Linked DNA regions of Homo sapiens: all the other regions are linked to region 2. The links are contacts of gene promoters, found by promoter capture Hi-C in blood cells and fetal thymus (Javierre and others, 2016). All regions are on one chromosome and are shown on one strand. The core of a region is centred on a gene start or on the middle of the fragment in contact, and the rest is flanking DNA. Distances in the headings are between cores, read along the strand shown.

Region 1 (2,700 bases), core at 38-2,537, 7.6 Mb after region 2:
CTTTAGATGGGCCACTTTTTGACATGTGGTTCTAAAAATTTTATAGCGAATGAACTGGTAATTCAATATAGCCTCAGATTATTGGACTAAATAGAAACTCTTCCTGTTCAAAGAAGAAGCTTTATCAATTTGAAACTCAGAAAATACATAGACTTTACCTTTCAAAGCCTTTCCACTCCCTCTGGGTATTCTCAATGGCTCATAATCTAATTACAAGTCACAAGCAAGCAAGAAGATCATTCCCTTGTCTCTTTCTGCCATCAACTGACACAAAATCATTGCCAAAAACCCACCGGGGACATATGGTCCGAGCAGGAAAACATAAGAAAACTCCTAAGTAATTCGGATATAAAAAGATGTAAGACGAGGTATTCTTCTGTAACTATAGGGTAGCAGTGAGCCCCATGTGGGTAAATAACCAATACAAAACGAAAAGGTAAGCCAAAGAAATCACAAGAAATATAAACTCAATAAGCAGTGATGCTGAGTTGACCGCTGAAGGTTCTCATATATGAATATAGTCATCATATGTAAGAATTTATTCTACACCTCCAACCTCAAAAGCCCTTAGATGTGGGTAGGGTTGGGAGAGTTCACGGTGAGCGGGAACCAAATGAAGTGAATGAACGTTAATATTTAGATGGAAAGGCATTAATATATGCAAGGCAGTGTGTTATGGCTTGAAGCAGTAACAAACACCAAAAAGGGAGAAAGAGGCTAGGAATGAGAACAGAGAGACAGTGGGGATCCAGTTATTATTATTATTTCCCTTTTTTTATTTTTTAAACGAGGAAAAACAGGGCCGACAGAGCACTGGCATGAGGAGGGGTCAAATGGATGCGATAGATCAGGGGAAAGAGTCTTGCCTGCAACATCTAAGAAAACCACAAGGAAAGGAGGAACAGCTGCCCACAGTTAGGCTTACGGTTTATCTCTGCAACCCAGGACAAAGCGAGGAAGAGTTAGAAGACAAATGACACTAGAAAGGAGAGACAAGGAAGGCGCCAAAACCCTCAGAGAACCCAGATGGTTGGCCACAGGGTCTTCACTGAAGGCGGACCCCCGCAAGAAACCCAGTCATTCGGGGACCAGAGACGCTAAGTCCCAAACTTCTTGACTCCTTTAGCCTCAAGCCGATCCCTCACCGAAAGAGAAGGACTGGAGAACTGTAAAAATGTGCAGGAGCCACCAACCCGGCAAATGCTCCAGCTCTAGCAGCAGCCGCCACAAAACCAGCCCGCACACACGCAGACGTTCCGACCTCAGCGCCGCAGCTACAGGTACTTTGAGCACCCCGGCCACCGTAGTAAGAGGAACCGCCTCCGCGTCAAATCCAACAGATCAGCCACTTCCGGGATACGAAAGCCTTGCGATTGGCAGTAGCGATAGCAGCGGCGTAAAGGCCTCTGCTATGCTTACTTTATCCATCCCTTTTTCCCACCTGTTCGCCACCCCAAGCCGCTAATCCACCAATGCAGCAAGCGCAGAACCAAGAGAAAGTATCCGTCTGTGAGCATTGTCTCTCTGATAGACAAACCACATTACGGCTGCCATAAATTCCTCTCGAGCACTTGGACTTCAACTACCAGCAGGCCATGCAGCATCACGCCCTTGCCTCTGGCGTAGGAACTGCAAGATCCAGCATGCATTGCGGCCCTCCTTCCTCGCACTCAGGACCAAGATAGAGCCAACCCAAGCCTCACTTTGATTTAAAAAAAAAAAAAAAAAAAAAGCCAGGATGCCTTCTTTTCCTGTTGTGAAGGAACTCTAAGCCAAGCCATTATTAGGACTGTAGGTTATTTATAAAACATCAAGGGATATGTGCACTCATTTTCCATATTCAGATTATTTTCAAGCATTAAAACACAGGACAGTCGGGCGCGGTGGTTCGCGTCTGTAATCCCAGCACTTTGGGAGGCCGAGGCGGGTGGATCGCTTGAGGTTGGGAGTTCGAGACCAACCTGGCCAACATGGTGAAAGCCCGTCTCTGTTAAAAAATTAAAAAATTAGCCGGGCGTGGCGGCGGGCGCCTGTAATTCCAGCTACTCGGGAGCCTGAGGCAGGAGAATTGCTTGAACCCGGGAGGCAAAGGTTGCAGTGAGCAGAGATCGCGCCACTGCACTCCAGCCTGGGCGACAGAGCGAGGCTTTGTGGGGAAAAAAAAAAAAAAAAGAAGGAAAAGAAAAAGAAAGAAAGAAAAAAGGACGGTCCGAAGATGCTTTTTATAACGTGGAAATTTTTGGCCAGGCGCGGCGGCTGACGCCTGTAATCCCAGCATTTTGGGAGGCCGAGGCGGGCGGATCACTTGAGCCCAGGAGTTCCAGACCAGCCTGGCCAACATGGTGAAATCCCGTCTCTACTAAAAATATAAAAAATTAGCCGGGTGCGGTGGCGCGCGCCTGTAGTCCCAACTACTCAGGAGGCTGAGGCGGGAGAATCGCTTGAACTCGGGAGGCGGAGTTTTCAGTGAGCCAAGATTGTGCCTCTGCACTCCAGCCTGGGCGACAGAGCAAGACCCTGTCTCAAAAAAGTAAAAATAAATAAATAAATAAATAAATAAGTGGAAATTTTTATCTTCACTCCTAAATGATGTCAAGAGAAATACTGTTACTGTAAAATGTAATCCTATGCCGTTTTACAGTACCGCAGATTTTGTTGGAGCAAGGACTACCAGACATGCTTCTGAATTACATAGGAAAT
Region 2 (2,700 bases), core at 81-2,580:
TGGAGGTGAAAAGTTGAGTGACTGGGGAGGATTAAGAGAGGCCCATCGAGTTGTTTGTTTGCGGAGATGAGTTAGCAGTAGTATAAACTTTAAGAAAGAAGAGATCTGGCCGGGCGCAGTGGCTCATGCCTGTAATCCCAGCACTTTGGGAGGCTGAGGCTGGCGGATCACTGAGGTCAGGGGTTCAAGACCAGCCTGGCCAACACGGTGAAACCCCGTCTCTACTAAAAATACAACAATTAGCTTGGTGTGGTGGCGCAGGCCTATAATCCCAGCTACTCTGGAGGCTGAGGCAGGAGAATCGCTTGGACCTGGGAGGTGGAGGTCGCAGTGAGCCGAGATTGCACCACTGCACTCTAGCCTGGACTACAGAGACTCTGTCAAAAAAACAAAAAAACAAAAAAAAGAGAGAGAGATCTGAAGTATTTGCTCTCAGAACATAGGGGGACTTTGGAGAGTTAAATGGGTGAAGATCTTTAGGATGTTTTGCTAAGCCCCCTCCTTACGTCCTCAGTGGCCAGCTTTAGTTACTTTGTTAAAGTTTTATGGTTGGCAGATTTACGTTTCTTCAGAGTTTGACACTAGGTTGAGGTTGGCCATGAACTAATACAATTATATTTCAGTTACACGATTCTTTGCCCTCCTTGAGTGTCCCCACCCTCATATATGTTAACTCTGACATCTGCCCGAAATTCATTCATCTAATAAATATTTGAGTGGCCTCCCCTCTTTCCGATTGCTGGACAGCCCATCATTTTCCAAAGTCAGCACCTAAACTCTTCTATGACTTTCCTGACAACTCAACACTAAAATTCGTCCCTCCCTTTTTTGTGTGCAACCCACCTCCCCGCCTCCGCTTTTAATTGTTTGGCCTTCATTCCTCTTCTACAGTGCTCCCTGCAATCAGTACTGGTGCTGTACATATTTGCTAGCTTCGTACATACGGCACGAAGTAGATGCTCAGTAAATGTTGGTTGACTGAGTATCCTCTGCATCTCGGTGACATCACATCCTGCGTGCCGTGGCGTCATTCTGCATTCCTCTGCGGGAGGCTCAGATCCGGAGGGTTTAAGTGGTTGTTTATAACATGCACCGAACATATCCAACGGAGGCTGTGGTTTCCGACCGCCCACAAAAAGCGCGGTTGGCGGGAGTGCGGGTTCGGGGTCGGCTGGCAGCTGGGAGACTCCAGCTCTGGGCGGAAACACACTGCCTCGGAGGCGCCGGCGCCTAGTGATTCTGGGAATAGAAGGTGCGAGGGAGGGAGCGGGTGGCTCACTTATCGCGGTGTTTTCTCTCTCTTCACTCCTGGGGGAGCTCTCGCGAGAGGAGCAAGAGGAAGATGGCCGTGCCCTGTTTTTCGGTGTAAGGCAGCGACGGCGGCTGCGACGGCGAGACTGAGATCCTGGTGTCGTGGGCACCTGAGTTCTAGCTTCCCCCAGCGAGCGCGCGTCCCTTCGTGCCTAGGCGAGAGCCGGCTCTTCCCCGGGAGATGCGTTTGTCCCAGGCTCGGGGGCTCAGTGGGAGTTCATGCTGCGCTGGAGGCTCTTGGCCACCGCTCTAATCGCCTTGTGCCGCCGCAGCGCCAGCTCCGTCGCCAGCGGTGAGCCTCCCGATTCCCCCCCTTGCCCCTGGCGGCGGCGATGACCGGGGAGAAGATCCGCTCACTGCGGAGGGACCACAAGCCCAGCAAAGAAGAAGGGGACCTGCTGGAGCCCGGGGATGAGGAAGCGGCGGCTGCCCTCGGCGGTACCTTTACCAGAAGCAGGATTGGCAAGGGCGGCAAAGCTTGTCATAAGATCTTCAGTAACCATCACCACCGGCTACAGCTGAAGGCAGCTCCGGCCTCCTCCAATCCCCCCGGCGCCCCGGCTCTGCCGCTGCACAATTCCTCCGTGACTGCCAACTCCCAGTCCCCGGCCCTTCTGGCCGGCACCAACCCCGTTGCTGTCGTCGCGGATGGAGGCAGTTGCCCCGCACACTACCCGGTGCACGAGTGCGTCTTCAAGGGGGATGTGAGGAGACTCTCCTCTCTCATCCGCACGCACAATATCGGGCAGAAAGATAATCACGGTGAGGAGTGCTAGCCCCTCTCCACCTCTCTCCTTCCCCGAGCCTAGGGTGTGCCTCCCCAGGCTTCTGGAATCCTAGGCCCCCTCCAGCAGACTCTTCTTTTTGCCCATCATCCGGGCCGTTCGGTAAATCATGATCGACTCAGTAATAGCGTGCCAGTGGTCAAGGGGTTGGTTCTTGTGGGTGCAAAGGAATGTATCCTCCTTGCCCACTTCAAAGTTTGTCGTGAGAAGCTGTTTTGTTTGAGACAGGCCTTCGATTTGCTGATTCTGGACTGTCAGAAATTTTAGGTTGCCTCCCACCCAACATGGTTTTCTCCCTTTGTTTATGGAGCTATATATCTTTATTTCTCTCTCTTCCCCCTACCTTGGCATTTTAAATTTTGAACGCATAAATTGCCCTCCTCCCTTCATTGCTCACATACAGATCCCATCTTGACTGCAACTGGTTGTGATTTTGCCTGCCACCAGGTTGTTTCTTTTTTGTCTGCTTTCAGTAAACTTAGAATGTTAGATTTCTGAAAGCCACACAGTAGAAATTTGTTGGTATTTGATACGTAGAACAGTTAAAGTGACTTCTCAACAGCCGATTTTTGTTTGAGTAGAGATTTGATTTTTTGCTTGTTTT
Region 3 (2,700 bases), core at 111-2,610, 7.6 Mb before region 2:
TGAAGAAATGTCTGGCATTACTTGGTAACTGAAGTACATAACATAAAATACCAATTTACACACACACACACACACACACACACACACACACATATATATATATATATACCTAGTCCTGTGATGACAATTCAGAATATGATCTTACATTTGAGTACCCACAGGATGGGGTGGGAGAAACTACGCCTAAGAAGCTACAAAATCTATTTTGGTCAAGAAACAATGCTGTTCTTAACTTAAGAGACCTTAACAGGCCGGGCGCAGTGCCTCGCGCCTATAATCCTAGCATTCTGGGAGGCCGAGGCGGGTGGATCACGAGGTCACGAGATCGAGACCATCCTGGCTAACACGGTGAAACCCCGTCTCTACTACAAACGCAAAAAATTAGCCCAGACGTGGTGGCAGGCGCCTGTTGTCCCAGCTACTCGGGAGGCTGAGGCAGGAGAATCGCTTGAACCCAGGAGGCGGAGGATGCAGTGAGCCGAGACCGCGCCACTGCACTCCAGCCTGGGTAACAGAGCGAGACTCTCAAAACAAACAAACAAACAAAAAAAAACCCTTAATAAAAATGGCCATGGACACATACATATACTAGGTTATTAAATCTGGCTAACACTGAACTTTAAGAACAATCACGTTTTTGGATAAAGAAAAGGGCAGTCATACTTTTAGAGCCTCATCCACATTATTTTAAACAAAAAACTTAAAATATGGTCGAGAACTAACAGGCTTCCAGCCTGAATTCAACACCCACCCTCGTGATAAAACTAAAAAATCGGACAGTCTGTAAGTAAAATACAGGGACACTTTACTACCCTGAAAATCATGCTGGGTTCCCGCTACGCCGGGCAGACGTTTTCAGGAGCATCACCGCGCGGCGTCTCGGACGCACTTCTCCTGGCGCCCTCCGGGCGGCAGCGCTCTCGAGACACTGTTGCTTCGCCGTCACGCCCGTCGTTGTCACGCCCTTCCCCGCGGACACCGAGAATGACCCATAGCGGAAAATTCTACCGCACTACCTCCCTGAGGCAGCGACCGGTAAGAAACAACCTTTTCTTCAGGCTTCCCACCACCCAAACACAGTCGCAGTCAACTGGCCACTATCACCCACCACCCTGCAGGAACAATTACCCAGCCTCACCCCAAGAACGCGCGGAGAGGAGGTGCCAAAAGAAATTCTGTTCTCGCGAAGTCTTAAACTTAATCCTCGCGACGTCTCTGTTCCTGTCGTTCTTTCTCAGCCCTAACCCACACCAGCGCGTTGCCTCGGAAACATCGCGAGATTTTGTTCCTTCAGTCTCCGCCCCTTTACGGCACGATGGTCGCGCAAGAATGTAATAGAGCTTCGACGGCCGCCATTTTCTTTCTTTCTTAGCTGTTAGCTGAGAGGAAGTCTCTGAACAGGCGGCAGCGGCTCTTATAGTGCAACCATGGCAGACTATTCAACAGTGCCTCCCCCCTCTTCTGGCTCAGCTGGTGGCGGTGGTGGCGGCGGTGGTGGTGGAGGAGTTAACGACGCTTTCAAAGATGCACTGCAGAGAGCCCGGCAGGTAAGTGTGGACCGCGCGGCGGAATCCCGAAAGCTCACGGTAATTGGCCGCTGACTGAGTAGGCCGCTACCCTTAAGCGCATGAGGAAGAGGAAAGAGGTGTTCTTCCGGGCTGAAATGTGAAGAGACACGTTTCCCCATGTTGGTAATAACGATTAGAGACCAGAACCCAGTTTTGTGTTCTTGGTGCCTAATCCACTTAGAACCCCGACGCGTGCTACGCAAAGAAGGCCTGAAGTCTTTCTCCCGCTTCTGCGGCACTCGCGTGTCTCCAGTGAGCTAGTTTAGATAAAGATCCTCTTCCAGGGGATAAAGCGCAGTTAGTTTCACACAATTTAATGGAAGGTTCTGGTAATGAGTTTGGGAAAGAACTAGGGTCTGTCCTGGAGCCATAGCAAGGGAAGGGATTTATCATTAAAGTAGCCTTTACAGCTCATTTCCGTTCTCTCTCGCAATTAAAACCGCTTTCAGTACCATTCACCGTCACACCTCTACAAGGAAGGGACTTGAAAGCAGCCTTTTTCTGGGCGGGATTTACGTGTCAGTCTGTTCCACCAGTCCGCCCCCCTTATTTCTCAAAATGGCCTCAGGCCCATTATACCAGAGGTTTCAATTTGAATCTGCCTCTCAGTTCAGAGTCGTAAACTGACCAGACCTCTTTGTATTACGTAGTGCGTGCATTTGCCCTGAAGGCACCACTTTCCCAGACGAAAGCTGTTAAAATAGTGCGTGTATTCCAGGAAAATAAAAGATACCTTAATTTGAACTTTACATTCTTAGATAGTCCCCTAATATATTTAACATTTCAAAATGTATGGTGTTGGTATAGATTTGCATGTAAGCAAAAGAATCCTATTCTCTGTGACACTATGCATATTGTACTAGGTGCTGGGCATTTTTTACTAGTTTTAAGCTAATGATAATTAGAAACCAGTGTTGTGCTGTGTTTTCGTTGCATTAGGAGTTCACTTAGTTAACTTTTTACCGGGACAGTTGAAGGAACATTGAGTCAAAATTAGAATTCATAAAATCCGTTGTAACACATCTAATGTGAACGCATTATAAACATGTACCTGTACTTTTTTATAACCAGAAATACTAGGAGTAGTCAACAAAAGGTCATCATTAATATTAGTTCTGCGGTTTTTTCCACG
Region 4 (2,700 bases), core at 95-2,594, 5.4 Mb before region 2:
ATGCTTGGGCAGACCGAGGCAGGAGCACTTGAGACCAGGAGTTTGAGACCAGCATGGGCAGCATAGCGAGACTCTGTTTCTAAAAATAAAGAAATTAAGAACATTAAATACAGCAGAAAGGTCACATGAGATGAACTGAAAAATGACCATTGGATTTGGTATTTGTTACTTTACCATTGTGTTGCAATCGTGTGTGAAAAATGGTGATGCTTTGTCATGAATAGAGACTAACAAAATAATAAATGATTTGAAGGACATGCATCTTTTTTGTTTGTTTGTTTTGAGTCAGGGTCTCACTGTGTCACCCAGGCTGAAATGCAGTGGCGCAATCTCAGCTCACGGCAGCCTCGACCTCCCGGACTCGCCATCCTCCCACCTCAACCTCCTGAGTAGCTGGGACCACAGTCACGTGCCACCACACCCAGATAATTTTTGTACTTTTAGTAGAGATAGGGGATGGGGGTGGGAGGTTCACCATGTTGGCCAGGCTGGTGTGGAACTCCCGGCCTCAAGTGATCCGCCCACCCTGGTTTCCCAAAGTGCTGGGATTACAGGCGTCAGCCACCGCCCAGCCCACTCTTTTAATACTAAACATATTATTTTCCCTGAATTAGATGAAATGTTCAATTTAATCTATTTTATCCCACCTTAGCAGGATTTGGAGAATTAAATTCAGCAGCCAAAGATCAGCTCACAACTTCTATCAGCAAACTCACGCACAAACTGTCATTTGTCAGACACTGTGAGGGACGTTATATGGGATACTTCAGCCTTTCTCAGAACTGAGCCATCCACAGTCAAGGTCTTGCAATAGAACCAATTTGAAAAGTCAAGGCTTCTAATCACCCAGACTCACCAAATTCCCAGGGCACTCAGATCTCACGCCCCAACCAAATCACAACTTCACTGTGGTAACCACCACCCACGTGCCCCCGAGCCTCCATGAACTGCCGGCCTCTAGCCTCAAGGAGACTCCTCCACCCAATCACTCCTTGCCTTGAGCTGGCCGGGAGTTTGGCGCGGGGCAGGGAAGGCTGCTGCTGCTGCTGCTCCGGTCGCCCGCAGCTCCTGACGTGCCAGGACAGGTGGATGCAGAGACCACCTGGACCGAAGGGCGGCTCTGTGGAGTCTCCTGGAGTCCGAAATTGTAGCGGGGACCCTGAGGTGAGCGGGTTTCTCCCGACGACGGGGAAACCGCCGGGGCAGAAGGCGAGGTTGATGAGATCTCAGGCCTCAGCATCCTCCCAAACCTTCCCTGACCCGAGAAGTATGAGGTTTCTGAGCGACCCCTCCAGTAGCCCAACTACAGAAGCTGCGCCGCTGAAACGGGCGGGAGAACTGCGCGCCGACGCACTAAGCTGCACTGCGCAGGCGCAGGCAGGCTCAGCTTTCCACATGGATTCACGTACTTCAGGTCTATGACCCTGCTTCCAGCCATTCCCAAACCCATCACTTTCCACATGAACCTCACTGGAACATCCTCAGCCTGCAGGTATCAGACTGACCAGAACTCTGCAAGGCCCATCAATGACCACCCGATTTGTTAGCCCCATTATTCTCACAGCACCCAATCTCCCTTATTGCAAATGTTACATGCATTTCCCACACGTCCAAGCACACTAGCTTATCTTTAAATGTAGAAACCACCCAACACAGTACACCCAGTGCCTTTGACACAATGAGAACGTGTAATGCTCACACAGCATAACCCACCTAAGGTTGATCTTGTGACCAAATATAGGAAAGATAGTTATATTATCAAAAGATAGTATGCACATGGCTGTGTGCATAGTAGAGTAGGAAACAGGGAAAGACTGACTGGGTAAGATCTCTCAGTTAACAATTCCCCATCTACCAATTTCTAGTACTGTGGTTTCTAACATATAAATCAGTTAATGGCACACTAGAAGTTCAAACTCCAGCTTTGCAGTGGTGACCTTTAGAAAATTCCTTAAATAAGGCCAATAGTACCAACTTACCAGAGATCCATGGATTAAACATGACGAAATTATCTGGATACTGCCATACAGAAGCTATTAGAAGACATTAATTTACACCACTACTGAAATCCTGCCACTGTTGAGTATCTCAATAAACCAGTTATGCACAGCGGTTTACCCACATGCAGTGACAACAGTCCTTAAGAACATCTCTGTTCTTGGAATGATTATTGCACAGGGCATTCCAAACATACTTGAGAAAAATCTCAATTTCCATCAAAAAACCTTATTTTCAGATCGGGCACGATGGCTCCTCCCTGTAATCCCAGTACTTTGGGAGACTGAGGCCAGAGGATTACTTCACCTCCGGAGACCAGCCTGGGGAAGACAGTGCCTGTCCCCAAAATTAAGAAATCAGCTGGGCATAGTGGGCATGGTGGCAGGTACCTGTAGACCCTGGTACTCAGGAGGCTGAGGTGGAAGGACTGCTTGAGCCCAGGAGTTTAAGGTTACAGTGAGCTGTGATTGCACTACTATGCCCCAGCCTGGGGAAGAAAGGAAGACCCTGTCTCTAAAAAATAAAATTTAAAAATAGAGAATACCTCACTTTCACCAAAACTGTAAACCCCTAGAGTGATTGTACTCATTTTAGGCCAGGCGTGGTGGCTCACGCCTGTAATCCCAGCACTTTGGGAGGCCGAGGTGGGTGGATCACAAGGTCAGGCTGGTCTCCAGCTCCTCAGCATGGTGAAACCCTGTC

The links. The method cuts DNA at HindIII sites, captures the fragments that hold promoters and counts their contacts. A CHiCAGO score of 5 or more calls a contact.
Region 1: the fragment with the promoter of ATG4C here is called in contact with the fragment with the promoter of ANKRD13C in region 2 in 5 of 17 cell types (non-activated CD4 T cells, activated CD4 T cells, total CD4 T cells and 2 more); the score reaches 16.9 in non-activated CD4 T cells.
Region 3: the fragment with the promoter of FUBP1 here is called in contact with the fragment with the promoter of ANKRD13C in region 2 in 1 of 17 cell types (non-activated CD4 T cells); the score reaches 5.2 in non-activated CD4 T cells.
Region 4: the fragment with the promoter of MSH4 here is called in contact with the fragment with the promoter of ANKRD13C in region 2 in 4 of 17 cell types (total CD8 T cells, total CD4 T cells, total B cells and 1 more); the score reaches 15.6 in total CD8 T cells.

The regions. Positions count from the first base shown.
Region 1 is chr1:62,782,719-62,785,418 of GRCh38, reverse strand. ATG4C (autophagy related 4C cysteine peptidase) reads right to left here and starts at 1,287. Exons shown (of 11, transcript NM_032852.4): 1 at 1,146-1,287. RefSeq lists a silencer at 807-1,101 and enhancers at 1,077-1,256, 1,377-1,436, 1,537-1,586. The HindIII fragment of the contact is 3,523 bases long and covers 122-2,700 here.
Region 2 is chr1:70,353,352-70,356,051 of GRCh38, reverse strand. It overlaps ANKRD13C (ankyrin repeat domain 13C), which reads left to right and starts at 1,330. Exons shown (of 13, transcript NM_030816.5): 1 at 1,330-2,073. The coding sequence starts at 1,644. ANKRD13C-DT (ANKRD13C divergent transcript) reads right to left here and starts at 1,241. Exons shown (of 4, transcript NR_168352.1): 1 at 844-1,241. RefSeq lists enhancers at 951-1,010, 1,111-1,170, 1,221-1,410, 1,441-1,500, 628-1,545 and 3 more. The HindIII fragment of the contact is 4,699 bases long and covers 1-1,790 here.
Region 3 is chr1:77,977,732-77,980,431 of GRCh38, reverse strand. It overlaps FUBP1 (far upstream element binding protein 1), which reads left to right and starts at 1,360. Exons shown (of 20, transcript NM_003902.5): 1 at 1,360-1,547. The coding sequence starts at 1,428. It also overlaps a transcript of DNAJB4 not described here. RefSeq lists enhancers at 887-946, 957-1,106, 1,417-1,546, 1,557-1,616, 1,627-1,676 and 1 more. The HindIII fragment of the contact is 9,300 bases long and covers 1-2,700 here.
Region 4 is chr1:75,795,526-75,798,225 of GRCh38, reverse strand. It overlaps MSH4 (mutS homolog 4), which reads right to left and starts at 1,344. Exons shown (of 20, transcript NM_002440.4): 1 at 997-1,344. The coding sequence starts at 1,240. The HindIII fragment of the contact is 6,934 bases long and covers 1-2,700 here.